5 separate regions of the Homo sapiens genome follow, and all the other regions are linked to region 4. The links are contacts of gene promoters, found by promoter capture Hi-C in blood cells and fetal thymus (Javierre and others, 2016). All regions are on one chromosome and are shown on one strand. Each heading gives the region's core, a stretch centred on a gene start or on the middle of the fragment in contact. The rest is flanking DNA. Distances are from core to core; before and after follow the strand shown. Region 1 has its middle 480 kb from the start of HEAT2. Region 2 has its middle 3.8 kb from the start of GPAM. Region 3 overlaps GPAM (glycerol-3-phosphate acyltransferase, mitochondrial). Region 4 holds the start of SMNDC1 (survival motor neuron domain containing 1). Region 5 overlaps GPAM (glycerol-3-phosphate acyltransferase, mitochondrial).

Evidence for each region. Contacts are between HindIII fragments. The CHiCAGO score rates a contact against its expected background, and 5 or more counts as called.
Region 1: a fragment that was not itself captured here is called in contact with the fragment with the promoter of SMNDC1 in region 4 in 1 of 17 cell types (total CD4 T cells); the score reaches 6.6 in total CD4 T cells.
Region 2: a fragment that was not itself captured here is called in contact with the fragment with the promoter of SMNDC1 in region 4 in 2 of 17 cell types (naive CD4 T cells and non-activated CD4 T cells); the score reaches 5.8 in naive CD4 T cells.
Region 3: a fragment that was not itself captured here is called in contact with the fragment with the promoter of SMNDC1 in region 4 in 1 of 17 cell types (naive CD4 T cells); the score reaches 5.9 in naive CD4 T cells.
Region 5: a contact is called between a fragment that was not itself captured here and the fragment with the promoter of SMNDC1 in region 4, in 1 of 17 cell types (naive CD8 T cells). The highest score is 8.5, in naive CD8 T cells.

The regions. Positions count from the first base shown.
Region 1 is chr10:111,594,547-111,599,723 of GRCh38, reverse strand. No RefSeq gene overlaps it. Among named protein-coding and RNA genes, the nearest start is that of HEAT2, 480 kb to the right of the region's middle. The HindIII fragment of the contact is 4,017 bases long and covers 1-3,616 here.
Region 2 is chr10:112,184,899-112,190,197 of GRCh38, reverse strand. It overlaps a transcript of GPAM not described here. Among named protein-coding and RNA genes, the nearest start is that of GPAM, 3.8 kb to the right of the region's middle. The HindIII fragment of the contact is 2,247 bases long and covers 833-3,079 here.
Region 3 is chr10:112,168,634-112,173,812 of GRCh38, reverse strand. It overlaps GPAM (glycerol-3-phosphate acyltransferase, mitochondrial), which reads left to right. Exons shown (of 22, transcript NM_001244949.2): 7 at 1-114; 8 at 747-843; 9 at 1,495-1,631; 10 at 4,861-4,960. Among named protein-coding and RNA genes, the nearest start is that of GPAM, 13 kb to the left of the region's middle. The HindIII fragment of the contact is 3,436 bases long and covers 140-3,575 here.
Region 4 is chr10:110,301,523-110,307,275 of GRCh38, reverse strand. SMNDC1 (survival motor neuron domain containing 1) reads left to right here and starts at 2,356. Exons shown (of 6, transcript NM_005871.4): 1 at 2,356-2,528; 2 at 3,689-3,808. The coding sequence starts at 3,689. RefSeq lists a silencer at 2,525-2,844. The HindIII fragment of the contact is 6,895 bases long and covers 1-5,753 here.
Region 5 is chr10:112,148,952-112,153,931 of GRCh38, reverse strand. It overlaps GPAM (glycerol-3-phosphate acyltransferase, mitochondrial), which reads left to right. Exons shown (of 22, transcript NM_001244949.2): 22 at 266-4,067. The coding sequence ends at 382. Among named protein-coding and RNA genes, the nearest start is that of GPAM, 32 kb to the left of the region's middle. The HindIII fragment of the contact is 807 bases long and covers 1,826-2,632 here.

The sequences.
Region 1 (5,177 bases), core at 359-2,858, 1.3 Mb before region 4:
TCTCTTTCGTTGCATCAGGCAACTCTGTATTTCCTAACATGCCCTTCACTTTCATGCCTCTAAGCTCTTACTCTTGCTCTTCCCTTCACTTGTCCATCTTAGGTGTGGTTCTCTCCATCTTTCAAGAACCCACTCAGTTATTGTGTCTCTTCTCCCAACCTAAACAGACTTCGTTGCTCCCTCCTCTGTTTCTCATAGCTCAACTAGAATAGCTGTCCAGTTGTGCGCCAGTTAGGTGTTTATGTATTAGTTTTCCCAGCTAGTCTGCAAGCTCTTTGAGAGTCTGAGCTGTGTCTTTTGTGTCTTTATGTAAATGATTGGAAAAGTCATATCAAAATAATGCTCTAAGAAGTTTTCTTATAGAAGTAACAATTTTTAAAATTACCTTAATAAGCACTACTGGAGTAAGTGGGCTAAGTGCTTTATATATATATATATATATATATATATATATATATATATATATATATATATATATATATATATATATAGCTTCGCTTATGTCTTACAAAAATCCTATAAGGTAGGTACTATGTACTATTCTTCTGTTCTACAGATGAGAAAAACCGAGGCTCAAAGAAGTTATGCAACTTGCCTATGGTTACGCAGCTAATAAGTGCCCAAGCTGAAATCTGAATCCAGATTTGCTTGATTTTAAAGTCTGAGGTATTAGCCATTGTGCAAACCGTCTCTTAGCCAGTAACTGTGTTTGCAAATGGGTAGTTATTCAGATACCAATGGATGCACTGAAGACTTCTCTACTCTTCCCCACCCCATCCTATCCCCACCAGAAATAAATTCTGCTTTCTCAATATGAAATTTTCTAGACCATTAGCTTAAATCTACTGTGCCAGTTTTTTAAGAACCTTTATTCCTGACTTTGCAATTGACTGATTCCAAGTATGCTGATCCACTAAGGAGCACCCTGTCCCAAATGAAATGGAATAGTTCTTTCTATAATAAAAGTTCACACTAAAGTTGACAAGATATTCAAAATGCCTGCCCTTCATAGAGGCTATATTTGTTATGTAAGCAAGGCAGTCTGACTTGTAACCAGTAGGTGGCACTAGACTTTCCCCTCCCGGCTATGGCTGTAACTGGTTATGGAGTTGTTCTGTTACTAAGCGGCGGCTGAAAGGGACCCATGGAATGCAGTTGCATGGCTTCCTATCAGTGAAATCATTCTGGATAGAGCAGGGTTCTTCCCCCAGCTTGCACTCAGCCTTGTCCTAGGCGTAGAGCAGGGTCATATGGATTAAATACCGGTTCTTAGGTGCACAAAGAAAAATGCAACCAGTCCAAGCGTGGCAATCTCCTTAGGCCACCCTTCCAGCTGCTGGCTCTTTGGCACTGTGATTTGTCTAAAGCTGATGGTGGGGGAGGTGAACATACAGGTACATTGCAAATCATTAGGAGGAAAAGTACTTCATACTCAGAATCTGGACTGGAGTGGTAGGCTGTGCCAGGAAATGCTTTTCTCTGCACAGTTAGGGCAACTAAATGCCTTGATTAGGGACAATGTCTAGCCACTCAATCAACATTTCCTAAATCTCTTCTAGTAATTCAAATCATTCTGGAAGCTCAAAAGGATATGAAGATGGAAAAAGCATAGTTCCTGTATTCCAGGAGCTTACCATCTACTAATAATGAATCTAATATCCATTGATTCAGCCAGTACTGATTGGGCACCTATTGAGAAATGGGGAATAGAGTGTTAGATCACACTGCCTGGATAGAGCTTACAGCCTAGTGGAGAATATAGACATTAAGCAAGTAATAACACATTACTAGTATAATAAATACCATGGTAATAAAGTAACAAGACATCCTTGCTATGAGGACATATAGCAAGGAGGTCTGGAGGCGTGTGAGTCATACAAGGCCTTCTAGAAGAGATGATTATAAGGGGATATCCAAAGAGGAGCTGGAATTAAGTGGGCAGAATGGAGAAGGGAGAGGAGAAGAATGAGAATCATGTCAGGTAGAGGGAAGAGCATGTGATAACCCAGAGGCAGGGTGGAATGAGGTACTTTTAAAGAACTAAAAAAAAGTCTGTGAGGCTAGAGCTGGGTGAGCAATAAGAAAAGTTGTAGAAGATGGGGCTAAAAGGATTGATAGTCAGGACCAGATGATGCAGAGCCTTGTATACCATGTTGAGGAATTTAAAATGTATGCAAGAGCAATGAGGAAGCCCTGATAGATTTGAAAAAGATTGGTGTTATGACATCATATGTTCATTTATTTATCTAATAATATTTATTGCATGCCTACTCTGTGCCAGTGTATCAGGTGCTAGAAACTTTAATAGAGATGTAAATTATAATTTAAAATTTTAAAAAGTAATTGATTCAGAAAGATGGGAGGCAGGAAAGTTTTCTTAGAATGAAAAATGTATTCATGCAACAAAAAGTTTTGGGCACCCTGGCATATCTCAGGATCTGTTCTAGGCCCTGGAGATTCAATGGTGAATTATACCCAGTCCTCATCACAAGGAATATTTATTGTGTGCATTGAAATTCATGGCAGGAGGTATAGCATGTAGGAGATGAAAGGGAAAAATCAGTCAACTGAAAGATCTGCTCTGGCAGACACTGAGAGTGTGGCACGGTGGAAGCTAATAGTAACCAGGATCCAGCACATTAGTGTTTACACTTTCATGTTCATGATCCCAGTTTTCAAAAACCGACTGTGTCCCACTAAAAGGAACTAGGAATCCATGGAAGAATGACTAATTCCAGATCTGAGACAGGAAATGCATAAGATGAGCATTGGCCATCTTTTTATGCAGATAGCAAAGATGTAGTCAAAGATGAATGGAATTACATCAAAAGGACATCGAAACAGTTTGAAGGGTCACTCATTGACCAAAGATGGGACAATTTGAACATCAGAACAAATTAACTGAGGAACACCTCTGTGAATTTACAAAAATATACATGTTTATAATAATAGTTTTTTTAAAAAGATAGCCCTTAACCCCCCAAATTAAAAAAGACTCATTGGTCACATTGGAAGTAACCTCACTCTGAAAATTAAAGGGAAATAATTAAACATTTATTTTTTCTTTCTTGGATAAGCAGTATTTCAATATGACCAAGTAGCCCTAGTTGACGAAGAAAACTACTTCTTTATAGAGGAATTCCACCTAATAAATGTAAAGGGTTGAAGAAGTGACAGAATTAGAACATTATCATTTTGCAACTTATAATAAGAATCAATAATTTAGGCAAAGATTTTCAATGAATGAAGACATTTTTAAAAATGAATGGAGAATTTTTCCATGAAAGGTCAGGCTTTTACCATTTGAACCCACTGATTAATTTAAGTAATACTTATTCTAGTGAATAAACCAGAAATATTTACCACTTGAAGGAAGATAAAATACATGGCATCCCGTATGATGTAATTTTGGGAAGAAAGGTCAAACATGACTATAATGGAACCCTCAGAGAAAAAGTGTTGTTATTAACAAACATGAAGTTTACAGAAACAAATTAAAAGACAGTAGAATGAAAAAGTAAAATGATGAGGAAGGCACTGCTCTATATGAAAAGATTCTAGGAGACATAACCAAATGCAATGTGTAATCCTATTTGGATACTGTTTTGAACAAGCTTCCTATAAAATGAAATTTTTGTTACAATCAGGAAATGTGAATATAATGGATAATTAGACAAATCACAGAATTATTGTTAATTTGACTAGAGTTGATGATGGCATTGTGGTTATATATGAAAATGTCTGTATTTTATAGAAATGCATACTGAAGTATAGAGTGGTTAAATGACATGAGTTCTGAGATTTGCTTAAAAACACTTAGCCAAGAAAGGAAGGCATAATGTCTGATACTGGTGTGGCAAAATCTAGGAAACTGTTGAATCTGGGTGTAGTATATAGGTGTTCTCTGTACTATACATGTTTGAAATTATTCATAAAAAACCATGACTGTGGCATTGTGAGGTAAGTAAGGCAGAGTATGCTCCAAACACCCATGATTAGAAGTCTTACATCTGAAGCACGTGTATTGGTGTGAGGTCATGTAGCTAATAAGAAACAGGACTATGACTGGAACTCTAATTCCAAGTCTAGCACTCTTTCCATAACAGCTCTCACTTTGCTTTTCTAGAGTGCATTCACAAGTCACCCTCTTTGGCTCTTTGGCTCACGAGATGGCTCTAGCATTAGAAGAAGGCAGACAGCATTTTGTTCCTTACATTTTGCCCATTTCCCTAGAACTGGAAAAGAGGGCTGTGGTTTGTCAATAGGCTCCTGGAGGGAGGTGGTTTCCAACTGCTGAGTAGACGAATGACCAGGCACTAGTAAAAGGTGTGTTCACTGGCTAAAAGTTAGACCAAGCCCTGGCTTCTGGCCTTTCCTAAGCCACAGGCAAATCCCAGGCACATTGATCATCTGCAAGCATGTTTCTACCTGTTCTCATCTCTTCTCTTTGCAGCAGGTTATCCTTCCTCAAATATGAGAATATGAAATGCTTTAATGAGGGTATAAGAAATCGACCTGCTCACTTCCAAGCAAAACTGTGGGCAAAAGTTCACATTTAGATGGTGTCTATAATTCTCTTTTGCTGTGTACCTCTGAGAGGTTTTATTTGGATCAGCAAAGAGGTGGGAGTGCTAACACAAATGAAACATAACTAGCTTTATTTTCGGTAAAATGACGCTAACTGACATTACTACCTACTGCATGGCTGGCACTCTGTTAGTGGATTTCCAAAAGTTAACTCATTCAATTCTATGTAAATTTTAATTAAAAACAAAACAGTCTGGAGAACAGATTTTGGAAAACTCGAGGCCTAAAACAAGATTGAAAGTCTACCATTTACTTTCCCTTCTCCGGAAACCCAGGGAGAATGATTGCAGAGACACTAAGTCACTGGGATTCTGTAACCATAGGTGAAATTGCTAGGCTGGTGCCCATAGAGTTTGCACTTTATAGGGTGGATAAAAAGAATAAATTTCTGTGTTCTTTGGTTATAAAAGTGTCTATGTCTAGCTTGTGAGGACATTTGTTGGGCTGTGACCATGAAGAAAATTGCAGAATGAGTTAGCTGAAAATGTTAAAACGTGATCCCTATACCGTAAGTTCCAGCAGGAGTCATGTCTATCATGCATATCATTGTATCTGTAGCAACTAACACAGTTCCTAGCCCAGAGTAGATA
Region 2 (5,299 bases), core at 707-3,206, 1.9 Mb before region 4:
ATTTTCTCTCTCTTTTATTATTTTTTTAGAATGTTTGAGTCATTCTGGCAATGAGATCCAGGCTCAAATATGATTAGAAATATATTTATTTATTTGCAGCTATTTAATTGTGCATATTTTATTTTATCCAATGAAATCTTGAATTTCTAAAAACAGGGACTAGAGTGTATCCTCCTTACAGAGTATAGGTAGGCAGTAAAAAAGTTTTTGATTAATTGTTTAAATAAACTGGGCTTGGGATGTGTTGCAGTAGGGGTCTAAGCTGCCCATTTCATTAAAATGAACCTACATAGTGACAATCAGGAATGTTACCCGAGAGTAACAGAAGACAACATTGTAATGGCTTACACAGGTAGAGGTTTGGCAAAATCCAGAGGTGTGTGATTCGTGGTGTTGGGTTTGGATATTGAATTACGTAGCAAATGGGAACAAAACGGAAAAGGAAGCGGTGCCAGCTGTGTCCTCTTTTACTAGGAAAGAAAAACTTCAGGAACCCTCAGTTTGCCTTGCTCTCAGTTCACATTGCCCAGAACTGGGTCATGTGACCATCTTGGCTAGAAGGATAGTTGCAGTATTAGGGAACAAGATTATCATAATTGGCTTAGATACCTTGATTCATTCTTTTCTCAGAGCTAGGCAAGAGATCACCCTGAATATAATCAGAGAGTAGAAATACGTCTTGAACAGGTAGGTCTCAGTGAGTGCCCCAGATCAGCTGGAAGTAGGGAAGTGAATTCTGGAAGCCACAAGTCAATGAACTTGATGCTGATTTTTGAAACTTTTTGAAACAATGATTAAACAGGAGTAGTGTAAATATTCTAGACTATAAGCTTGAAGGGAGGAAGTGTGGTGCTGTCTTGTTCAATGCTGTCTCTACAATAGGTTGGGTGGCGTGAAGTAGATATTCTATAAATATATACTGAATAAATAAATAAACAAAAGCAGCCCAAAGAAAAGTAGGTCATAATGAGAAGAGCATGAATCCAGTAAGAATAATTCATGCCAAACTACTTCCTTTAAAAGTTCTTGATAGAACAATCATTATATTTTATATAAGGGAATTTAATAGATACTTTATCATTAGATTTTTGCAAGTCAGTTAACAATGTCCTTACAATATTCTTGTAGAGCAATGCTATTATACATGGGTAGATCTGCAGCTACTTGAACAAATGCACCCAGGGAAGTTTGGTCAACGAATCTGGATCAGTCTGAAAGGGAGCCTCTGAACAGGGACTATTAGGAAGGCAGCATGAATTATTGTCAAGAATATGAGGTTTAGTATGAGAAAGGCCTAGGTTCAAATCCCTTCTGTGCTGCTTTGTGTCTGGTTGATTTGGGCAATTTATTTAATTACTCTGAGCCCATTTTTCTTATCTGTAAATTAAGGATCATAATATCTTGCAGCATCATCATGAGAATGAGCCATGTTAAAATGTAGCAGGTATACTGGTCAATATGTAGGATGGCAGAACAAAGATTTTAAAATACCTCGAACATCTGGAAAATGGCAAAACAAAACAAAATGCAATGTACACAGAGGTACATGTGCATTACTTTCACAAACACAGGGTGTGTGCCATTTTCATAATTGGCTTAGGTATCACAATTCATTATATTTTCAGAGTTGGCCAGGAGATTGTCCTGAACAAAATCATAGAGAGGGAAACAGAGAGGGAATAGCTTCTCTGCTGGTACAATGGGTGGGACCAGCTTTTTATAGGATCTAATCAGACTCACCTTATGAAGACAGGAAATCTAACATCTGGTACACCACCCTGAAAACAAAAGGCAACTAGCTTGGGTAATGAAAGGCTGTATTACTGTGTATACAGAATTTGTAGTGCTGTCACTCTTCTTGTTCCTAATATCAATAATGTGTGTCCTCCTCTTTTTTCCTTATGAATCTGGCTAGAGGTTCATTAACTCTATGGATTTTCTCAAAAAATTAACTTTCAGTTTCAATTGTTTTTTATTTTCCTACTTAAAAATTTTTCTGCTTTCGTTGATATCTGCCCTTTATTATTTTCTGTTTTTGTTTTGCTTATTTTGGGTTTAATTTATACTTTTTTCTTAAGGCTGAATCTGAGATAAATAATTTGAGATCTTTCTTTTTTTCTAGTATAGGTGTTTTAGTGCCATAAATTTCTAAGTACTGTTTTAGCTGCATTCCTCAAAGTATGATATATTGTGTTTTCATTATCATTTAGTTCAAGGTACTTACAAATTTTCATTTTTCTTTTTTACAGCATGATTTTTTAAAAGTATGTGAGTTTCTAAATAGTTAAGGATTTTCCAAATACCTTTAAGTTAGTGGTTTCTAATTTCTACCGTGCTCAGAGTATATGTTTTATGATTTGGATCCTTATATGTGCATCAAGACTTGTTTTATGATCCAGAATATGACCTATCTTGGTGGATGTTCTGTGCACACTTGAATGTTTATTTTCCTGTTATTGGGTGGCATGTTCTATAAATGTCAATTAGATCAAGTTGGGTTGATAGTATTGTACAAGCCTTTTACATCCTTATTAATTTTTTACCCACAGTTCTATTAGTTATTGGGGGAGGGGTATTGAAATGGCTGACTACAATTGTAGATTTTTAAAATTTCTTCTTGCAATTCGATTAGTTTTTGATTTATATGTTTTGAAGTGCTGTATTAGAGGAATAAATATGTAGAATCAGTTTGTCCTCATTATGAATTGACCCTTTTATCATTATAAAATGATCCTCTATATTTCTGATAATATTCTTTGTATTGAAATTATATGATATTAATATACCCACCTATATTTCTTTTGATTAGCATTAGTATAGCATACTGTTTTCTAACCTTTTACTTTTACTTGTCTTAATATTTAAAGTGAGTTTTTAAATAGGTGGCATATCATTGGATCTTCATTTTTTTTCCAGTCTGACAATATCTGCCTTTTAATTAGGGTGATTACTTATATGAGCTTAAATCTATCATCTTGCCATGTATTTTCTCTTTATTCTATCTATTCTTTCTTTTCTCCCCCATCATTTACTGCCTTCTTTTGAATTCATTAAACATCTTAAAAATTCGACTTAAGCTTCTTTGTTGATGTGTTAACAATAACTCTTAGTTTTGCTTTCATAGTAGTTGCTTTAGGAGTTAAAGTATACATTTTTAACTTATTACAGTTTACCTTCAAGTATATTATACTGCTTGGTGCGTAAGATAAGAATCTTACAACAGAATACTTCTCCCTTCCTGGACTTTGTGCTGTTGTCATCATACATTTTATTTGTACATGTTATAAACCCCACAAAATATTGTTTTTGTTTGTGCATTAAGCAATCATGTTTTAAAAGAGTTTTAATGGCTGACATGGTGGCTCACTCTTATAATCCCAGCACTTTGGGAGGTCGAGGCAGGCGCATCACTTGAGGTCAGGAGATCGAGACCGGCCTGGGCAATATGGTGAAACCCCAACTCTACTAAACATACAGAAAAAAATTAGCTGGGCGTTGTGGCGGGTGCCTGTAATCCCAGCTACTCGGGAGGCTGAGGCATGAAAATTGCTTGAACCTGTGAGGAGGAGGTTTCAGTGAGCTGAGATCACGCCACTGCACCACTGCACTCCAGCCTGGGTGACAGAGCGAGATTCCATCTCAAAAATAAAATAAAATAAATTAAAATAAAAGGGTTTAAAAAATAAGAAAAATTATTTACCTACGTATTTGTGGTTTCTTAAGCTCTTAATTCCTTTGCATAGATTCAGAATTCCATCTGACAGCATTTTTTTTTTGCCTGAAAGACTTTCTTTAACATTGCTTATAGAACGGTCCTGCTGGTGATGAATTCTTTTGGCAATTCGATGTCAAAATATGTTTTTATTTTATTTTTTTGATATATATAAAAATATATAAAATGTACATACCATATATTAATATAAAAAGAACTCTTGATTGATAGGTTCTTCATTCAGTACTTCAGATGCTGCTCCACCATCTTCTGGTTTGCATTTTTCTGATGTGAAATCTGCTGTCATTCTTATCTTTGTTCCTCTGTACAGTAATGTCTTTTTTTTTCTCTCTGATAGCTTTTAAGATTTTCTCTTTATCAGTGGCTTTAGGCATTTTGATTGTGATGTTTCTTGGTATGGTTTTCTTCATGTTTCTACTGAGTTTGTTGAGCTTTTTGGGTTTATAAGTTTATAGTTTTGGTCAAATTTGGAAAGTTTTCATCAATTATTCTTTCAAATGCTTTTTTCTGTCCTCCCTAATCTATTCTCACCTCATATTTCTCATTTTCTTCAGGGACTACAATTGCATGTATACTAGGCTCACTGATACTCTACTTTTACTTTCAGTATTTTTCTTCCCTTAGTGTTTCATTTTGGATAGTTTCTATCACAATGCTTTCAAGTTTTTTTTTGTTTGTTTGTTTTTGTTTTTGAGACAGAGTCTCGCTCTGTCACCCAAGCTGGAGTGCAGTGGCACAATCTTGGCTCACTGCAAGCTCTGCCTCCTGGGTTCACGCCATTCTCCTGCCTCAGCCTCCCGTCAGGTTTTTTACTGTTTCTTTTTTAGTAATGTCTAACCTATTAATCCTGTGTGTGTGTGTGTGTGTGTGTGTGTGTGTGTGTGTGTGTGTGTCTGTGTGTGTGTGTTAGGGTGTTAAAAATCTTAGATGTGGTTTTATTATCTCCTAGATGTTTGGTTTGTGTCTTTTTTTTTTTTAAAGATTTTTCACATCTCTACTTCCCATGCTCAGTTTATTTTTTCTACTTGTTGAAAACATTGAATACAGTCATAATTACTTTCTTAATGTCCTTGTTCTCTTATTTTATCATCTCTGTCATTTCTGGGATGATTTCAATTGGTTGATTTTTTTTTCTCATTTCCTGCTTCTTTTCGCATGCCTGATAATTCTGTTTGGATTCCAGATGTTGCAAATTTTACCTTGTTAGGTGTTGGTTATTTTTAATTTCCTGTAAATATTCTTGTGCTTTGCTCTGGGACACTTTGTTCTCAAAAACGGTTTAATCCTTTGGTGGCTGGCTTTTAAGATTTCTAAGATAGAATCAGAGTAGCTTTTACATTAGAGCTAATTTTGCCCCACTACTGAAGCAAAACCATTTGAGTTGTGAATTATGAGGTTTTCCAGTCGGGGTGCCAGGATCAGGCACTATTTCTGGTCCTGTATAATCACTGGGTATCTTTCTACTCTGCCTTGTGGGAGCAGAATTAATTTCCTACCCTGTGCAAACTTTAGTAATTGCTCTCTCTTTTCTTCATACATGATTATTTCCTGCCCTTAGGTAGCTTC
Region 3 (5,179 bases), core at 608-3,107, 1.9 Mb before region 4:
ATTAAACCCTGATGGTTCTGCCCAGCAGCAATCAAAAGCCGTTAACAAAGTGAAAAAGAAAGCTAAAAGGATTCTTCAAGAAATGGTTGCCACTGTCTCACCGGCAATGATCAGGTATTAAAAGGCAAGGCAGAAAGCTTTCAATCACAGCCATGCTGATTTGAGCAAATAAGACTGAATTATTGAACTTTCCTAGCACAGTTCTCTTTGTCCAAAAGATGTTTTAATGAATCCTGATATTAAATTAAACTCTTCTTATATTCTTATTCAGCTTTCGTGCAAAGTAGCACTGTGGTAGGCTTGAAGGTGCCTTCATATCTGTTAATTGATAGCAGCCAATGTATTACTACTAACATCTGCTCACCTAGACTGCTTGTGAATCAACTTTCACGTATCTGAGTCATAAAAGGAGTGGTTTGTGTACATCAGAGGGATCATTCTGCTCACTAAATATTCATTCGCCTTGGTCATTTGCTTCTGCAGTATAAAATGTTATTAGAGTGAACTATGACTGTAGTCTATAATAAATGGATACTTCTGTAAGTAGTATATATATATATAAAATTAGCTCTAGTTCAGCAATTCAGACATACGTGCATGCATGTGCACACACACTAAGTCATTTACAAGTACTTTGAGGTTGTAGGTCCATAAATTTAAGTAGACAGAAGTCAACTGTATGTGCTTGTATGTAAAAATAACGTGTGTTCATTTATGTTGTTTTTTTTGTTTGTACTTTGTTTCAGACTGACTGGGTGGGTGCTGCTAAAACTGTTCAACAGCTTCTTTTGGAACATTCAAATTCACAAAGGTCAACTTGAGATGGTTAAAGCTGCAACTGAGGCAAGAATTTCTGTGAATCTATTACCCCATTTTCCCCTCAATTGTAGAGTGGTTTTAGGGTTCTTGTGGAAATGTTTTCTTGTGTACTGTGATGTATTTCAACCCATTTGGAAGATTTCCCTCATTTATGATAACTTCAATAGCTGTGTATTTGGGGAGGAGAAATGAGATACAGGAGTACTTACTAGCAATATGCAGGATTCCTTTTGTAAGTTACCTTGCAACAACCCTGAAAATCTGGTAGAACAATCCCTATTTTGTAGATGAAGCAATAGAGACACAGATAGATAAATAGGTTGTCTCAAGTGGCAGATAATAAGTGACTTGCCCTGGATTTCAAATCAAACCAAGCCTGACTCCAAAACCTGTGCTCTTTTTATATCAGTGGAGCTGCTTCTCAGAAAGGGTATAGGTCAACTGGAACTCTTGATTGCTCTTCTTCCCCCAACTTATTTCTGTTGTTATAGTTGCTCTTTTTCTTTTTAGCTCAGAAAGTATTACATTGAAGGAAGTTCCTATTATTGGAAAATGTTTTTAAAGAGTGAGTCACTGATTAGCCAGTGTTTGAGTGACTCTAGCCAAATATGCAGTTGCAAAGTGTGATTGAATTTTACATTTGAGTTTTAAATTTGGCATTTTTCCCTTTGCTAGACGAATTTGCCGCTTCTGTTTCTACCAGTTCATAGATCCCATATTGACTATCTGCTGCTCACTTTCATTCTCTTCTGCCATAACATCAAAGCACCATACATTGCTTCAGGCAATAATCTCAACATCCCAATCTTCAGGTAAGATGAGCTTATTTTGGAATTTAAGGAATTAAAAAGATTATGTTTTGAATTTTAATTTTTTAAATTATAGCTTTCGATATGTTATTGTAAAGATGACATTAGCCTTTTTTCTTTTATTATAAAAGTGATACATAGTTATTGTGTAAAATTTGGAGAGTGCAAAAATGCATTAAGACTATCATCATTATTTATATATTTTATATGGGATACTTGGTGAACTGTGACTACCTAAACTTTATGGGCATTGTTTATCAAATAGATAAAAGGCAATTAGAAAGGCAAGATAGCAAATTACCATACCAGGCTCAGCAGTAGGGAGTTGTTTGGTGGAGGAGGGGGCAGTGAAGTGGGAGAAGGGTTAGTGATATAAAGACAACCATACCTGTTACTTTGACCTCATAATTTAGTAGAGCTAGAACCACTTAAAAAGTACAATATCATGTGAAAGGTATGTTTTAGAGGTTTTCACCTTTTGAAAGGTTTTTTAGAGGTTTTCCTCAATGCGTTCCATTCAGGGGAAATAGTATGTGCAAATGCGGAGAGATACAGGAGCATGGTATGGTTGGGAAGTGATGGACAATTGGGTAAGGTGGGAATATGGGATGCATTAGGAAGGATCAGAGACTGGAGGTGGTAGCTGTGTAGGTAGTGAAAGCTGGATCAAAACAATTTCTAAGCCAAGAGATTAGAGTCTGTCCTGTACTTGAGAAATGACATGTTCAGGTTTGTATTTTGAAAGGTCATTCTGGATTAGAAAGAATGAAATCAATTCTGCTTCCATTAGGATAGTTCAGGCAGAAGATAATGGAGGTTTAAATTGTAGTATTGTTTTTGGACAGGAGGGCATAGATTTAAAAAGTACTTAGTAGCTCGAATTTAAAGACCCAGTGCTAGTCCCTATGGGGGCTCAATAGAGGGGGAGAGGAAGGAGCAAGATTCCCAGGTGTTTACCACCTAGGAAACTGGGTAGGTGGTAGGTCTGATCACCAACAAAGAATTGGTGAGGAACTGGTTGAGCTGGTTTGGGAAATTAAAAGTTTCAAACCTGAAAGGACAAAGCATCTCTAAGGTCAGCTCTGTGGGTAGAGAGTGGATAAAAGGAGCATGAATTTAGAAAGAGACTGGAAGGAAAGTGGGCTGGCAGGTTGTGCAGGTGGAGCTTCACAAGATGGCCTTCGTCACCTTTGTGTGCTGTGTCCTCAGTATCACAGTCTAAGGAGCTCCTTCTTAATCCCTTGGTTCAGAGTTCTATAGGCTTTCAGAGTTCTGTAGCTAACCAGACTCTTGTGACCCAACTGAAGAGAAGCCATGGATTCATGCAGTCAGTGATATTTATCCAGCTGTGCTTTAGACAAGAGAGAACAAAATATATAGTCCTTGCCTTCACATAGCTTAATGGATAATGTAGACAGACAGCTAGCTGTAATAGCGTGTGATATGATTCTACAGGGTAGATGTGCTTTTCCAGGAATTAGAATATCTGTGTTTGCTCTCCAGGGGACCTCTCTCCAGGAACAAGGAACCGGGAAACTGAATTAGAAAGTCATCAGGAAGTTTCTGGTGGGCACAGACTTAGAGGGAAGAGGACTATTCCACTGGGGCTCTAGAGAAGCCTTGCTTCTCTTGTAATTAGAATATTTCCTATACCCATTTCCTTCACATTTGGTTCTCAATTAGGATTTCTTGGAACTGCTTAATAAACACTGATAATTTTTTGTAATCCAACTTCCCTTTCATGGACTCTATGCCAGTGACTGTGTAGCTCACCTGTCCTTCAGACACAGCAGGCTGTAGTTAGCCCAGCCTGTTTTTGTGCAGCTTTCTTTTGTTACATGACAGTCTACCCATTCACAAACCACTTCTCAGGTGTTATTTTTGTGGATGGCTCATCTCATTCATTTTATTCTGCAGAGTTTTACTCTCAAAGAGTGATACTAAGCTTTGGCAACACCTTACTGTGGCCTCCTTCTATTTACTGTAGAGCAGTGGTCCCCAACCTTTTTGGCATCAGGGACCAGTTTCATGGAAGACAATTTCCACAGACCATGGGGGTGGGGAGGATGGTTTTGGGATGATTCAAGCATGTTACATTTATTGTGCACTTTATTTCTATTATTATTACTTTGTAATATATAAAGAAATAATTATACAACTCATCATAATGTAGAATCACTAGACGGTCCCAACTGGGGGTGATAGGAGACAGTGACAGATCATCAGGCATTAGATTCTCATAAGGAATGCACAACCTAGATCCCTCATGGGCAGATGTGCAGTTCACAATAGGATTTGCGCTCCTATCCTATGAGAATCTAATGCTGTTGCTGATCTGACAGGAGGCGGAGCTCAGAGGGTAATGCAAGTGATGGGGAATGGCTGTAAATATAGATGAAGCTTTGCTTGCTTGCCTGCCACTCATCTCCTGCTGTGTGGCCCGGTTCCTAACAGGCCGGGGACCGGTATTGGTCCGTGGCCCCGGGGTTTGGGACCACTGCTGTAGAGGATACCAAAAATATATATTAATGTTTATGTTAGTATCACTCTACTTGAAAAGAATAGGAGGCTGTGAGTTTGGAAAGATTGACTTAGACAGTTTCAACTTCATATCAAAATTAGTGTTGTAGAAAGAGACATAGGGTTAGGAAAAGAATCGTTTTATGCCTGTGTATGTGCAAATGAAGCACATTTTTGTTTCATGTTTTGGAAAGATGGTTATGCTTGGTTTCAGTTGGATAAAATTGTTTTTGTCTCACAAGGATCCTCTGTAAACAATAATTATTTGAGAAAATTTCCCCCAAGGAGCTTTCGTAATAAACATCATATTCATTTTGTAGTAAACATGCCATGCGCAAATTTCAGAATGTCTAAGGGTCAGTGTCTTGAGACCCTGGGCAGGATTTTAAAATTTAGAAGTGTTCTATAATCCTCTTAAAATCTATACTATCATTTTTACGGGTAATATGTCATGCAAACTCCTTTTGGCTTGGAACAGATATAATAGAGGCTCATTATACACAGTGATATCCCAAAGACTGATGAACAATGTAAATGACTGAAACATGTCGATAATATGGAAAATGAAAAAAATGCCTGCATTTTTACTGTCAGCTGCTCAAACGGCACATATGGCTTGTATCCACTTGGCAAATGTTTTCAATTAACTTGGAATGTGAGTATTCTTTTTACATTTTTCTTTGTAAATAATTCATGTATTCTGAATTTATAGTACCTTGATCCATAAGCTTGGGGGCTTCTTCATACGACGAAGGCTCGATGAAACACCAGATGGACGGAAAGATGTTCTCTATAGAGCTTTGCTCCATGGGGTATGTGTGATCTCTAATTATCCTTAGGGACATTGTGTTGGTTATCACAGTGGAAGGAAAAATGACTCTTTTGAGTTGAGATTTTTAAAAACTGCTCTTTGAGTAACTGGAGTGATTATTGCTTGAGTTTGGTAATTTGTTGTTGTTGTTGTTGTTGTTATTACCAAAATATAGCATTGGAGGAGCTGTTTTATTAGTGTGAATAAGATACTTTGTCAG
Region 4 (5,753 bases), core at 1,107-3,606:
ACAGAGGGAGAATCCATCTAAAAAAAAATTAATTTTTTAAAATTTGTGACAGGATCTCACTATGTTGCCCGAGCTGGAATGCAGCGGCTATTCACAGGCACAGTCAGTGTGTGCTGCAGCCTCAAACTTCTGGATGCCCTTCTCAGCCTTCCAAGTAGCTGGGTGCCATCATGCCATACTTTAATTTTCTTTAGTAGAAAGGAAATAGCTGTATATTCTGATGACAATTTGGAGCCTTTACATTTTATTTATTTACTGTCTTTCAATAAAATAAATATCACGTTTCAAAACTAAAGGTTTAAGATACTTTTTTTTAAATAAACATGATTAAGTTTGAATGCAAATGTTTTAAGAAAAATCAGACACTGAAAGTAAATTTTGACACTTCAAAGGAAATAGTAATTCAGAAAGCCTATTTGAAGTATTGCTCTTAGTTTTGTCTGCTCCAGTTTTGTCTGGAGCAACACCGCATACAATTGTGAAAATTAAATGAACCTGTGTAAAGTGCTTAGAATGGTATCTGGCACATACAAACTGTTATTTCTTTGTGAAAATTAAAATTCAATATAGCTTTTCTTTATAAATGAATGTTGCATAGATAAAAACAATCCTAAAAACAATCCTGAAAAAATTATTAAGATGGTATAGAAATCTATGATGGAACTTATAATGAATATTTGCCTATTTTCTGATCTATGGGGTTCAGGAAAAGTTCTCATTTAAGAGATTTTTACACAATAAGGTTGACTTTATATTCAAGGAAGTTCCTCCTCGCATCGGTTCTTAAAACACACAATTACAATAACAGAAGTTCTCTAAAACTACATTTTATTTTAAACGAATATTTATTTAAAAGCACATGCTTTCTGTTTTGTCTGCCTTCTTAATTCTAGCTACACACTGCTGCCCTCTGCTGCAATTTCAATCTTTCACACTCACAAACCCGACCTAGTTTCCATCTATACAGGTTATCTGACTCACTGCAAGGGTTATGTGTGTGTGTGTAGAGAACAAAAGGGAAGGCTCCTTGAAAAGAAAACTAGGAACTAAAGATGTTGGCACAGTTCAAAAGAGCCCATCTGAGAAGTGGGCCTTTTTTTTTTTTTTTGAGACGGAGTTTCACTCTTGCTGCCCAGGCTGGAGTGCAATGGCACGATCTCGGCTCACCGCAACCGCCGCCTCCAGGTTCAAGCGATTCTCCTGCCTCAGCCACCCGAGCAGCTGGGATTACAGGAATGCACCAACATGCTCGGCTTTTTGTTGTTGTTGTTGTTGTTGGTTTTTTTTTTTTGTATTTTTAGTAGAGACGGGGTTTCTCCACGTGGTCGAGCTGGTCTCGAACTCCTGACCTCAGGTGATCCGCGAGAAGTGGGCCTTTTTATGGATCCAGCAACAAACTCCCAACCTCCCAGGAAAGGTTGCTTCCTGTCATCTATATAAAACTTTGTGTCTCAGGCCTTTATTGCTTTTTTAATTGAAATAAATTATATATATATGGTTTAAAAAAAAAAGAAAAGGAAAAAGGGTAAACAGCAAAGAGGGTAATCAATAAAACATTTGGCTTCCACTCCAAACCTCTGAACAGTTTTGTGTATCCGTCCAGAAAGCGTATATATTATTACAAACATACACAAGGGGCATTTCTTTTTGAACACAAATGTGAGTATTCCTACCACTCTTTACCATTCTAGACTAACTTGGACGTTGTTCCCTATCAGGCGAGATTAACCCAACTAAATTAAAACCAAGTAGGTTTTAACAAAACAGATTTTAAAGAAATCAATCTTCTCTCCAATAGGTTATTTCTGTCACGATTTAATTAGCTTTCTGTTACTACTAAGGCTTGTATCATATAAAGTAGTGGTTCTCAGGCTGGGCGCGGTGGCTCACGCCTGTAATCCTAGCATTTTGGGATGCCGATGCAGGAGGATAGCTTGAGCCCAGGAGCTGGAGACCAGCCAGGGCAACGTAAAGAGAGCCCCCACCAACACCCCCCGCCACCCACCACCACCGCCCCGGAAAAGCAGTGGTTCTCAAACGTCAGCGGACATTGGTATCATCTGGTGAGCTTATTAAAACAAGAGTCTCTGGATTCAGGAGGTCTGGGGTGGGGCTTGAGAATTTGCATTTCCAATAAATTCCAAGCCGGAACTCCAGGAAGATAACCTGCATTCCGCGCCTGGCGAAGCCCAGCTACGCCATTTCCTTCCTAGGCCCCGCCTACTTCGTGTCCCTGACAGCCAGGGACTGGCTAGAGGGCGCGCGGAGTCACGTGAGTCGAGCGACCTCGCGCGAGAGTTTGTATTTCTCGCGAGACTTCACCGTCTCTGTCTTTTCCTCCTTCCAGTGCCCGGCGTTCCTCCCTTCCCCCTCGCCGCCGACCGAGTTCTTCCTTTTCAGACCGGGTCGCCTTGCTGTCGTCGCGGTGATTTTCCTGCTACTGCTACTGCTGCTGCTGCCACCGCCACTACCACTGGGCTCATTTGCCCCGACCCCTTCCCGCCGCCCCGCCCCCAGCCCCACACAAGGTAACAACCCCCCTGAGGGAGAGAGTAAGGCCTGGCCGGGCCCGGGTCCCTCCCGAGGTGAAGCGGAGGCCCAAGGCTGAGGAGCCCGCCTCGCCGGAGACGCCCAGGCGCTGGCCCTGGATCCCGGAGCCACGGCCGTCTCTCAGCCAGAGCTGAGCCTCGGCGGCCCGGCCGGCGCTGGCCTCCGTGCGGCGGCGGCAAACACGGCCCGCAGGGGACCGGGTCGGGTGGGGCTGGGCGCCGCGCGGCTCCCTGTGGAGCCTGCCTGTTGGAGCGCGGCGGGGCTCCGGCGGTGGTCTTGGAGCTGGCGTGTGGATTTCCACGTCCGAATGATCGAGTTGTGGCGGGCTTTGAGGTGCTGCGTGGCGGGGAGGAGAGCAGCCTGGGTCGCTGTAACTCTTAGGGGGCCTTTGCAGGCTCCCAGCCTTTGGTTGGACGGGAATTTTACGAAGGAGAAGGGTCCTCGGAAACGTGGTACATTTGCTTATAAACCATCAAAAAAGGTTAATTGGTATCTTATTTTCAGGAAAATGACTGAGCTGGATTTGGCGAAAGGCACATTCGTTAGAATGCCTAAATGGGAGAGTACCTGTGCTGTTCTTTTTGCTGAAGATAATGCACCGATAAATATTTAAGCGACTGGGCGAAAGATTTTTGTTTTGGAGAGGCACTTTTAAATACACTCTTAATTGAATAGTTCAAGTAAAGATCGTAGTTTGTGTAGTTAATTTAAAAACGCACTTGTTTGGCTTTGGAAGCATACTGTAGTGCTTAAAAATAAGTATTTGGATTGTTTTTGAAAGTTTCGACTTTTCCAACAGAGTAGTGCTTTTTAAAAAGATAACACTGATTATTGAGCCGAATTCAGCACCTACCCTGTGGATAGGAGTTAAAAGAAAATTAGAAATTTCTTTGTATCTGTATGCTTTTTTAAAGTATGGAATGTATCTCAAGTTTATAATCCTCAGAATCTGTTGCCTTTAAGTTTGTGGTTTAGCTGAAGTCTAAACTGAGAGTAAAGGTAATGGTGGTAAATTAAGCTGCAGTGTTAGAAGGAGTTAGAGGCAAAAACTGGTAATTCAGGCAGACAGGGGAGTTAGTTTTTTATGCCTTGATTTTTGGTTTAGTTTTCATGGTCTAACCCTTTTTATTTTCCCTAGATGTCAGAGGATTTAGCAAAGCAGCTGGCAAGCTACAAAGCTCAGCTCCAGCAAGTTGAAGCTGCATTATCTGGAAATGGAGAAAATGAAGATTTGCTAAAATTGAAGAAAGATTTACAAGTAAGTATGGGTAGACAATTGTACTTTTTCTCTGTTTTTCAAATTATTGCTTGAATCCCTAAGTACCCAAAGCGCCTTTTGAGGGGTTACACCCCACCCTATGTATATATGTAAATTCTGTAGGTACCATTGCTTGTAGAAGTAGGGTTGCTTCCCCAGTTCTCAGGTTTCTGTACATCAGAGTGAAATATTGTTCTTTGTTATATAAATCTTGTGTGCTTACATAATTTTTAAAAACTAAAGTTGATAGAAATTTCCAAGTCTGTCAGATTTTCAAGACGAGAGGTACATGTAACTTCACAATGAAAAACGCTTTTAGTTTTTAAGACCTGGCAAATGAAATTTAGTTCAAAAAGTAACAAAGATTGAAGGAGAAAAATAGAACCTTAAGATTCTTTTTAATACCACAAGATTCTTTGAAAATGCGTGCCTTTTTTTTTTCCCCAAAGCTAGTGGATTACATTTTGTATTGAAAACACACCACAAAAATGCCTAAAGAGAGACAAGTGCTTTGTATAATTGTTACATAGATGTTCAGACTTAAGGCTAGGTTTTACAGTAAAGTTGTTGACACTTGTGGAAATTGAACTATGTGGTGAAAAGGAGATCTTTGTCATGGTAGAGTTTAGTAGATAATGAAACCTTTTTTTGAAAACCTGCACTGGGATTTCAAGACAAACATAGAGCCATCATAGTAAATACCTTTTGTGTTTCAGGACACCAGACTGATTCAGAAAAATGCCATATATAATTTGCAAATATATATGACTTTTAAGAGCTTCCTTTAAATTCTGAACCTGATTTTTAAAAAGTTTCAAGGGTGTTTTGATTAGAGATTGCTTTACCGACTGAGTACTAAACTCAAATCTGTATCCTGTCTAAAAATTCATTCCCTCCCTTTATTATCCCACTGCCCGTTAAAACTATTACTATTTTAGGGATATCAGAACTGCAAACAAACTTAACGGAAATAGGGTCCGGATTTGGGATTCTGGAACTGCTTATCTGGGCGTAATTAAGATGAGTTGAATACTTTCAAGTTCTACATTTAGAATAAAATTGCAGTAGTATGTTATTTTTAAACACACACAAACTATCTGGGTTAATTTCAATATGAACAAGACCCCTCTTCGATACGTAGAAGCCAGGCCTGTGGGCTTCAGGGTGCCAGTCAATACAAAAAAGATGTTTTGGGAGCAGTTTCTCCCACTCCCAGGCCCTTAAGTGAGAAATAACCCAGTGGTTTGCCACCTGTCCATTTGATTTGCTCATATGTTGTGAGTATACATTGAAGATGAGGCAACAGAGGCACACCGACCTCTTATTTTCTTACACTCTGTAAAGTGCTTTCTGTTTGCCCCAAAGAGAGATGCCTTGACTACCTTTACCAACTTAAGCAGTCCTTTTTTAGGAAAAGAAAACACTGGGTGCCAATGTTTTGTATATTGCTTCTTGGGCAGTGGGAGGAGGGGTATTTGTTGAACTGGTTGGGTTGGGGAAGTTGGGAGTGGAGTTAGAAATAGCATTATCATCAGGTCTTTTTAATATTTCTAGAATAATTCCTCATTAGAGTCTGAGCAGAACTGCCTTACCATGTCATGATCATCATAGTGGAAAGTACTGTAGGGGGAAACCATTGTGATAAACACTGTAGTAAGCCCCTAAAAGGCTTGCTTGCAGGGGTTCAGTTAATAATGACCTGGAAATCATTTTTCTGTAAAGTATCCTCTTTTCTATAACCATTTAAAACAGCACTGTCCAGTAGAACTTTCTGTGATGATGGAAATGTTCTATATCTGCTATTCAGTACCATAGCCACTAGCCACATTTGGTTGGATATTTGAAATACAGCTAGGTTTACTTAGGAGCTGAGTTTTTAGTATAACTTAATTAGCCACACGTGACTACCATACTGGATGGCAAGGATTTAGAAGTGCAAGTTTTA
Region 5 (4,980 bases), core at 980-3,479, 1.8 Mb before region 4:
TGGTTGAAATTTTAGAATATAGTTAATGTTGGTTGAACTCCATCAAAACAAAAAAAAAAAAATAGAAAAAGAAAACCTTGTTTGCATTGGAAACTCCCACCTCATGCTCACACACACCCAGGCATACATTTACTTAATGCCAGGATATGGTTTTTTGTGCCTTTACTGCCTTCTGAGGTCTAGGACACCACAGGTCAGGTTGGTAATGGAAATTTTTTTTATTTTTTATTTTTTGCCTTTAATTTAATCTAAACCTTTTCTTTAGGTTTTCAAGGAGACCAAACAAAAGAGAGTGTCTGTTTTAGAACTGAGCAGCACTTTTCTACCTCAATGCAACCGACAAAAACTTCTAGAATATATTCTGAGTTTTGTGGTGCTGTAGGTAACGTGTGGCACTGCTGGCAAATGAAGGTCATGAGATGAGTTCCTTGTAGGTACCAGCTTCTGGCTCAAGAGTTGAAGGTGCCATCGCAGGGTCAGGCCTGCCCTGTCCCGAAGTGATCTCCTGGAAGACAAGTGCCTTCTCCCTCCATGGATCTGTGATCTTCCCAGCTCTGCATCAACACAGCAGCCTGCAGATAACACTTGGGGGGACCTCAGCCTCTATTCGCAACTCATAATCCGTAGACTACAAGATGAAATCTCAATAAATTATTTTTGAGTTTATTAAAGATTGACATTTTAAGTACAACTTTTAAGGACTAATTACTGTGATGGACACAGAAATGTAGCTGTGTTCTGGAACTGAATCTTACATGGTATACTTAGTGCTGCTGGGTAATTTGTTGGTATATTATCTGGTTAGTGGTTAATGCTTCCTTTAAAAATAATTGAGTCATCCATTCACTCTTTTTCAGTTTTATCTGTCAATAGTAGCTACATTTTTAATGGGAGCACCTTTTATCCCAAAGTGCTTTATAAATTGAGTGGACTGATATATATCACACCCAGGTATCACTGTGCTGTCCTTTGCTGTCAGATTTAGAAATGTTTTTAAGAGCTATGTGAAAACAGACAATATTAGTTTAGGTCGGGAACTGAGATATTGTAATCAAATAGTTAACATCAGGAAGTTAATTTGGCTGGCAAAATTCTAGGGAAACTTGGCCAGAAAACTGGTGTTGAAGGCTTTTGCTCATATAAACAAGTGCCATTGAGTTTCAAATGACCAGCAAATATATTTAGAACCCTTCCTGTTTTATGTCTGTACCTCGTCCACCCCTCAGGTAATACCTGCCTCTCACAGGTACAGCTGTTTCTTGGAAATCCTCCAACCAAATAGCAGTTTTCCTAACTTGATTAGCTTGAGCTGACAGACTGTTAGAATACAGTTCTCTGGCCACAGCTGATGAGGGCTTTCTGTACTGCACACAGATTGTGTACTGCACCCCAGTCCAGGTGACTGGTACCCACTCGAGTTGTGCCGTGCACAACCTGTCCAGTATATGCATGTGGTGGCCCTACTGACTGGTAATGGTTAGAGGCATTTATGGATTTTTAGCTTTGAGGAAAAACCATGACTTTTAACAAATTTTTATGGGTTATATGCCTAAACCCTTATGCCACATAGTGGTAAATAATTATGAAAAATGGTCTGTTCATAATTGGTAGGTGCCTTTTGTGAGCAGGGAGCATAATTATTGGTTTATTATGGTAATTATGGTGATTTTTTAAATATCATGTAATGTTAAAACGTTTTCTAACAGTTTACTGTTGCTTATCTCCAAGATATTATGGAATTAAGAATTTTTCCAGATGAGTGTTACATAGATTCTTTGAATTTAGTATAAAAGTACTGAGAATTAAGTTTGTACTTCCATAAGCTTGGATTTTAAACACTGATAGTATCTCATGAGTAATGTGTGTTTTGGGAGAGGGAGGGATGCTGATTGATATTTCACATTGTATGAAATACCATGTTTGAAACTCATAGCAATAATGCTATGCTGTTGTGATCCCTCTCAAGTTCTGCATTTAAAATATATTTTTTCTTTATAGGAATTGATGTATACCATGAAGTCATTGTCAGTTGTAGTAGCTCTGATGTTGAATGAGATATCATGTTTTAGCATTCCATTTTACTGACTAGGGTAGAAGAACACTTTTCTTGGCTACATTTGGAGGATACCCAGGGAGTCTTGGGTGTTCCTTATCTGGGGAAGCAAACATTTCACTAGTCTCTTTTTTTCATCCTTTAAATTGTAAATTAAGGATTACTCAAGCTCACCATTATTCAAGATTGGGACTCGCTTCCCAGTCGACACTCTGCCCTGCCTGTCATTGCTGCAAAGAGCTGCTGCTTTGCCAACCTAAGCAAAGAAAATACGGCTTCTCTTGCATTATTTTCCCTTTTGGTTGGTTTGTTTTCTAGAAGTACGTTCAGATGCTTTGGGGAATGCAATGTATGATTTGCTAGCTCTCTCACCACTTAACTCACTGTGAGGATAAATATGCATGCTTTTTGTAATTAACTGGTGCTTTGAAAATCTTTTTTAAGGGAGAAAAATCTCAACCAAAGTTATGCTCATCCAGACAAGCTGACCTTTGAGTTAATTTCAGCACAACTCATTCTTCAGTGCCTCATGACTGAAAACAAAAAACAAAAAAACGAAAGCATCTTCACAATGAAGCTTCCAGATAGCACCGTTTTGCTAAAAGATACATTCTCATTGTTTTCCAACAGTGATGGCTTCCACATAAGGTTAAACAAACTAGGTGCTTGTAAATAATTTATTACAGTTTACTCTATCGCATTTCTGTAACATGAAATGCATGCCCTTCTTCAGGGGAAGACTGTGGTCAAGTTAAAAAAAAAAAACAATATTAAACAACATGAAACTGCAGTCTGTTTTTGAAAATGAGAATGTCCTAAGTGATTCAGAAGAGAGGAGGGAAGTTGTGCACTCTGAAAATGCATGAAAAACAAAGGCAAAAACTAGTGGGAAATGTGTAGAACTGTTAACTGAGATGGCTTCGAGTCTTCCTTCTGGAATCTGTTAAATTTCACAAAGTCATGAGGGTAAATGGAGAAAATATTTCTGGGATTACAATGAATGTAAGCCCAAATTGTGGAATTGCCAGTAACCTGGATGGGGAAAAGCATTTCCCATAGCACTCCATGTAATATGAGTGCTCTGTGAGATGTTCATCAGTGTTTTATAGAAATGGTGTTGCTGGGAAACCAAGTTTGCACCTGGAAACTTACAATGCACTTTAGCGCAGTAAGGGCTTGGCATCCGGTAGTGAAAAACTGTCTAACCCAGCATTGCCCAAACTATTTTGACACCAGGACCTTTTTCTCCTTTGGGATACTTATGAACCTCTCACTAATGTCCTGTGGAGAACATTTTGGGAAACACTATGTTAGATAGTTCTTTAAGGAGACAAAACGGTAATGAACAGATAGCACTGGGGCAGAATATGCATGCATTTTGTAACGTCCAGTGTGGCGTTGAATAGATGTGTATTTCCTCCCCTGCAGAAAATAAGCACAGAAAATTATAATGTAGGTGATCGGAGCTCTTTCCTTTGATAGAGAGAACAGCCCCAATGATCCTGGCTTTTTCACTGAACGTATCAGAATACATGGATGAATTGGGGTAAATAAGGTTTTAATTCAGATCTAGAAGAAAGTATTGTACGTTTGAATGCAGATTTTTATCCACAGATAGTTGTAGTGTTTAGACATGACAGGACCTATCGTTGAGGTTTCTAAGACTTACTATGGGCTGTAAACCTGTTTTTTAAAACTATTTTAGAAACCTGAGACTTGCCGTCTGGCATTTTAGTTTAATACAAACTAATGATTGCATTTGAAAGAGATTCTTGACCTTATTTCTAAACGTCTAGAGCTCTGAAATGTCTTGATGGAAGGTATTAAACTATTTGCCTGTTGTACAAAGAAATGTTAAGACTCGTGAAAAGAATTACTATAAGGTACTGTGAAATAACTGCGATTTTGTGAGCAAAACATACTTGGAAATGCTGATTGATTTTTATGCTTGTTAGTGTATTGCAAGAAACACAGAAAATGTAGTTTTGTTTTAATAAACCAAAAATTGAACATACTCTTGATGTGTTTGATTTGTATTTAAAACAGTTTCCTACATAATTCATTATACGAACAATTATTGTTTTCTGACTTTATATAGCAACTTATTAAAATGCTTAACGATACCTTACATAAATGTATGAACCTACAGTTCATGCTTTTATTATTGACCCACAGCTTTCCAAATTTGATCAAGCATTTGGAGATGTAGGTCTGCTTCTTAGCTATTGCTCTCCTTTTATTTAGTAAATATTCATATTCTAGGGAGATTCTGTGGGTTTTTGTAAAGATTTCTTTAAGCTTGGTGCTTTTTGTTATATTTTTACATATTTAAGTTTATAAAAAGTGTTTTCTCCACTAGTTTATCACAGTTGCTCAAACAATATTAGTTTACTTTTTTGACAAGAAAATTATTTCTTTTATCAGAGCACAGATTTTGTGGATTCTTTGAAAGTTCTCAAATACAGCCTGATCTCCAGAGTGTTCCTTCTAGAAACGGTGGTAAACGTGTGCCTGCTGATGATGTCCGTGTCCTTTGGATGCATGATATGGCTGTGAAACTGATTGACGCCCAAGACCATCCCATCCGTTCTCCAGCCAGCCTCTCTCCCTAAACTTCCTACTTGAACGCTTCTGATTTTCTCTGTGATGTTGCTGTGACTGTGCCCTTATTCTGGCACATTCATTCTTTACATTAGCAACTCTCTTGCTGCTGCCAAAGGTTACCTTCCTTTTATTGTAGCTAAATTCTAACTTTCACAGCCACTAGGTAAGTGGATGTTAATTTTGAAGTCTCATCTCGTTGTTTAGTCTACTCTCTAATTTTAGTCCTGTCATTTTCCTTTTTAAGCCCTTGCTGTCTTCTACACATCTAGCTAGTAAAATTCCAACATACCTCCTTGACATGTACAAGGGCACTTGTGGTGTTG